Linked DNA regions of Homo sapiens: region 1 is linked to region 2. Evidence: promoter capture Hi-C in human tissues and cell types (Jung and others, 2019). All regions are on one chromosome and are shown on one strand. Each heading gives the region's core, a stretch centred on a gene start or on the middle of the fragment in contact. The rest is flanking DNA. Distances are from core to core; before and after follow the strand shown. Region 1 holds the start of PSMD12 (proteasome 26S subunit, non-ATPase 12). Region 2 overlaps PRKCA (protein kinase C alpha).

What was found. The method cuts DNA at HindIII sites, captures the fragments that hold promoters and counts their contacts. A contact is called where the count stands out against the background at its distance.
Region 1: the fragment with the promoter of PSMD12 here is called in contact with a fragment that was not itself captured in region 2 in 1 of the 25 tissues and cell types used here (dorsolateral prefrontal cortex).

The regions. Positions count from the first base shown.
Region 1 is chr17:67,365,153-67,367,852 of GRCh38, forward strand. It overlaps PSMD12 (proteasome 26S subunit, non-ATPase 12), which reads right to left and starts at 1,425. Exons shown (of 11, transcript NM_002816.5): 1 at 1,260-1,425. The coding sequence starts at 1,367. RefSeq lists enhancers at 1,241-1,300, 1,321-1,630. The HindIII fragment of the contact is 13,722 bases long and covers 1-2,700 here.
Region 2 is chr17:66,724,151-66,726,850 of GRCh38, forward strand. The region is part of intron 8 of PRKCA (protein kinase C alpha); the gene reads left to right. Among named protein-coding and RNA genes, the nearest start is that of MIR634, 62 kb to the right of the region's middle. The HindIII fragment of the contact is 6,740 bases long and covers 1-2,700 here.

The DNA.
Region 1 (2,700 bases), core at 175-2,674, 640 kb after region 2:
CATCCTGGGTGAAAAAAGTGAAACTCCGTCTCAAAAAAAAAAAAAAAAAAAGTTCAGGTTTTCACTACAATAGGCTTCTAGGCAGGACAGCATGGTGTGTGAGGGCACCAGCTCCAGAATCTAGAATCGGTCTGCCTGGGTTTGCTTCTTGGCTTCACCACTTTACTAGCTGTATGATCTTGGGGCATGTGATTCAACTTTTTCTAGCCCAAGTTTTCTTACCTGTAAAATAAGGATAATAGTAATAGCCATCGCATAGGGCTGAGGTGAGGATCAAATGGCTTAGTGCATGTAAGCACGGTGCCTGACACTGCAGAAACTACTCAACAAATATCAGTTATTGTTATCTGTCTGGCATTGGAGGCGGCTGAGTTTTCCCACCCTTATGTAACTGATGTTTGTTGATGCTAGCTGCTAGAAAGCTCTTAATGAATTTGTGGCTCCCCCTCAGCAAGCATACTGAACCTAAGATATACATACGTACCAACTTTATCACCTTTCTCCATCCTTGTTTCTTGGAAAGCCCGTTAAACTCTTATAGTGCCTACTTGTCTTTACTTCTGTAGTTCCGTCTTCAGTAATGACTCCACCCCACCTCAATCTTACTAATTCCTCAAGACCCAATACAAACGTCAGCCTTCCTGTAAAACCTTCCCTTATGGCACCATTAAGAATGCATAGCTTCCTTCTCGGTGTTCCAGTAACACTTTCCCCTTGTATGGCCCTCACCACCATGCATGACTTGACTAATTCATCACGTACATCAACTCCTAAAGGACAGGGTCCTGTGTTAGTCATCTTCGTACTATCACTTTCCTGCCCCTTCTCCTGGCCAAAGACCAGGCACATAGCCATGATCCACAAACGATGTAACGACATAAATTGATTGAGCAACAGCAACAGAACGAAACTCTCTGATCTAGCCTTAATACTGAAGCGGCCTTAACCCCTGGGAAACTACTAAGGTAAATATCACTTAAACAGCATCCAAGAAACGGCAAAAAGTTAAACGGAGCCCTAAGTCCCACGGAGGGAAGTGACCATCTGTTTTGGGGAGGGTCTGGGAAGCTATAGGCGCTGGCGTACTCCGCAGCCCTGGCCGGGCCGACCTGGGGTCTCCCACTCGTGCAGGCCCAACTAGGGCTGGACAGGCATTGGGGGGTGCACGCTCCAGCCCGCAGGCCCCCTGAGGCCTAAGCAGGCTCCGCGCCGTGACTCAGCCCCTGGCGCCCGCCAACAGCCAGCCGGCCTCTCCTCACCTTGGCTAGCTTCGCACACTCGGGTAGGCGCTGATCCACCGTGGCGCTGTAGTCCACCTCCATCTTGACGATGCGCCCGTCAGCCCGCTCCGAGCCGCCGTCCGCCATGGTCCCCGCCTGAGCGTCCCTTGCTGTCCCCCTGCTTCGGCCACCACTCGTCACCCACACCGGAAGTTGCCCGCGCACCCGCTCAGGCAGCCCATCGGGAGCCCACGCAAAGGACCCCTCGAGGTCCCCGGCGCTGGTTGCCACTCAGGCACTGCCGCGGACAGCCTGGGGGTGGGGCTTGAGGCGCGCGGGGCGGGACTCGCCACTCCAGCCTGCAGCGTCAGGTTTTGTCTCTGGGAACATCAGACTTTTTACCTAAAATTTGCGATGAGAAAAGCGAGTGTAATAGAACAGACCATCTCATATATCCCTACACCCCTGCTTCGAAATATGATTTCTCAGGACCGTGGCCAGTCGCTTTTCTTGGATCTCGGTTTTCTCATCTCTACATCAGGAGGCTAAAATAAACCTTAAAATAGAAAATTCTAAGGTTTTATCTACTTGAGAATCTTGGTGGCTTACTCTGTGGGATCTCTGAAAGCTCCTAAGAGAAGATATGGCAGCAGCTCAGTCATTTAATAAGCAAAGTGGTTTTTCTCTTTGTTTTCATTTTCACTGTAATCCACTAAGTTGGTAAAAAGAAAAGTTAAAAAGACATATTTGTTATCCCTATAGGATTTTCGTGAGCATCAAACTAGATGACATGTGAGACAATTTCAATTCTTAAGGGCCTTACACGTTTTATGTGTTATCATTCATACCATGCTGGTCCCTAGAAAATAGCTTGAGATCTTAAAAAAGCTTAGGATCCTTGAAAATGGGAATGAGGCCGGGCGCGGTGGCTCACGCCTGTAATCCCAGCCCTTTGGGAGGCTGAGGCGGGCGGATCATGAGGTCAGGAGATCGAGACCATCGTGGCTAACACGGTGAAACCCCGTCTCTACTAAAAATACAAAAAATTAGCCGGGCGTGGTGGCGGGCACCTGTAGTCCCAACTACTCGGGAGGCTGAGGCAGGAGAATGGCGTGAACCCAGGAGGCGAAGCTTGCAGTGAGCCGGCGAGATTGCGCCACTGCACTCCAGCCTGGGCGACAGAGCAAGACTCCGTCTCAAAAAAAAAAAAAAAAAAGAAAAAGAAAAGTAAAGAAAATGGGAATGAGGTTGTGTTTGGTGTGGGCATATGGTCAACAGCAGCCTGGAAAGCAAACAGGAAAACGGGAAATCTTGGAGTGGTTTATCTATTATGTTAGTGGTTCTCAATTTAATTAGTGCCGACATCGCTTTATAGATGCTGAATAGATCTCTTTGTTTGTTTTAACTGCAATGAAAATCAGGGAAAATATAAACCATCTACAAGCAAAATAAGACAATATCTCAGCTATAATCTGTAATG
Region 2 (2,700 bases), core at 25-2,524:
CTGATGCTGCTGGTCCTAGGACCAGTGCCCAGCTACTTGGGAAGCTTAGGCAGGAGAATGGTGTGAACCCGGGAGGTGGAGGTTGCAGTGAGCCAAGATCGCGCCACTGTACTCCAGCCTGGGCGACAGAGCGAGACTCCATCTCAAAAAAAAAAAAAGAACTGAACAGACATCATCAGAGCTGAAAGGAGATTCCTCCTGGTGCAGGGGTGGAGGACAGTTTCACAGGAGGATGGCAGCACTGAGAGCCATGGGGGTCTCCAGCCTGTGGACTGCTGCTCAGAGCCTGGTCCCCCACCGCTTTCTTTACCTAACTTGGAAATGAGTGAGATGGACTCAAGATTTGGGACACATCAGCAGGAGCGTTTCTAATGAGTTAATATCTGCTTGAGGTCAGCAGCCCAGTGCATGCTCTGCTCTGAGCATTCATTCATCTTCAGGGGACATTCTGTGTTTCTGCATTTCATCCTCTGCATTCAGAATTTTCCATTTGCTCAGGCCCCCAGCAGGGCGTCTGGCCACGTTGGGCCGTGTTTGTATTGCTGGAGTAAAGGATGCCAGCACACTTACTCTTCTGCTTCCTCAGGTTTTCTGAAATCTCTGCAGTTAGGCTGTTAGCTTCAGCTTTATCCCTAGACGTATATTGATTTTATTTGCACTCCTGGTGAAGTCTGAATTATAGTCATGACAACTAGAGTTATGTCAACAATATGCAAGCCAGGAAGGGCAGGTCTCTTAATTCTGCTGGGAGGCCAGTTGCCAAACAATACATTAAAAAGCTCAGAGAAAGAAAAATGGTCAGCTCAGGGCTCACTGTTGCTCTTGAGCCAGAGATCCCAGCTGGATCTTGGGCAAGCCAGACTTCTCAGCAGAGGAATAGCCCTTCAGAGAAACCCTTCCAAGGGCATGGTTTCAGCTTGCTGGCCTGGCTAACTAGTCTCGTGTGGCCTCTGGGGAGGGTCATCATGTGGCCAACCACCCTAAAGGCAGAGAGCCCTCCCAGCACTTCTCTGTGGCTGTCCCAGCATGAACAGTGATTGCTTGAGAGAAGGAGTTCAGATTATGTATGAAGGTGCAAATGCATGGAGTTCTGGGCTGCTTGTCTGCACCAGCTCACCTGACTATCAGCTGCCTTTTTATGTTAGTTTGTCATCTGGCCAACTAGTGCTGGCTACAAGTTGGCCTCTGTCAGTTCTGTCAGTCTTAGTGCTTAATGAGCACAAATGTGAATGAATGAGAGAGAGAACTCTGAGTTTTGAATGCATGTGCCTGATATAGTGCTTGGTCTCAAGATACAAACTTGAGTAAGACTTGGTCCTTACCTCCTAGGATCTCACAGGCTAGTGAGGAAGACAGATCAATAAATCCAAGAAGAAGAGGCTGGGTGTGGTGGCTCACACCTATAATCCCAGCACTTTGAGAGGCTGAGGTGGGTGGATCACTTGAGCTCAGGCGTTTGAGACCAGCCTGGGCAACATGGTAAAACCGCATGTCTACAAAAAAAAAAAAATTAGCTGGGTGTGGTGATGTATGCTTGTAGTCCCAGCTACTCAGGAGGCTGAGATGGGCGGATCACTTGAGGTCAGGAGGTTGAGGTTGCAGTGAACCATGATCATGCCACTGCACTCCAGCCTGGGCGACAGAGTGAGACCCTGTCTAGAAAAAAAAAAAAAAATTCCAAGAAGGAATGTGTGTTAAGTTCCCCAGAAGCTGACGTAGCCCCATGGTTTTGAGAAGTTCATTCCTGAAGGGATCCCAGGAGACATGGGTGGGGAGTAGAGATGGGAGCCAGGTAAGGGTAGGACCTAGCCAAGGTTGTGTTCTCAAGCTGATGACCACTGTGGGCAGCTGGAGCTCGGTCTTCTTGTGAGCTGGAAGAACATTCTGGAACAGGCTTCCTGTTCCCATAACTCGGGCACCTCGGGCTCCCTCTGCAGGAGTGGTCTGAATGGAACCCTCAGGTGTTCGCAGGTGTGCAGGACAGAAAGCTCAGGTGTTTGCAGGTGTGCAGGACAGAAAGCTCAGGTGTTCGCAGGTGTGCAGGACAGAAAGCTCAGGTGTTCGCAGGTGTGCAGGACAGAAAGCGCAGGTGTTCGCAGGTGTGCAGGACAGAAAGCTCAGGTGTTCGCAGGTGTGCAGGACAGAAAGCTCAGGGGATACGGGTGGGGCCCTGTCTGCTGCAGGTTGGAAATTCCAGAGAAACCAAAAGGAGGCACTTGAGTTGGACTTTGAAGGTGAACAGAACAGCAAGACCCCTGCCCTCCCAGACTTGCAGTCAGGTGGCAACGGTTTCCGGGAAGAAAGCTAACTGGGAGAAGGAAGGAGTGTTGGGGTTTCAGGAAGACCACTGTGGAGGATGACTGTGAACAGCAGAAGAGGGAAGGGCGGAGCTGGCGTCCCAAGGCAGGAGACAGGTGGGAGCTTGCGGCAGGCTGGCATGGCTGGGACCGAGGCGGAGGGAGTGGTGGGAAATAAGCCGAGAGACAGAGCAGAGCGAGTGTCCTCCTCAGCCATCAAAGCACTCAGCCTTCTCTCTGTCGTGTGGGAAGCCGGTGAATCCAGGACAGGACCACTGTCTTTTTTTTTTTTTTCGAGACAGGGTCTCACTCTATCACCCAGGCCAGAGGGCAGTGGCACGATCTTGGCTCACTGCAACCTTCGCCTCCTGGGTTTAAGCGATTCTCCCACCTCAGCCTCCCA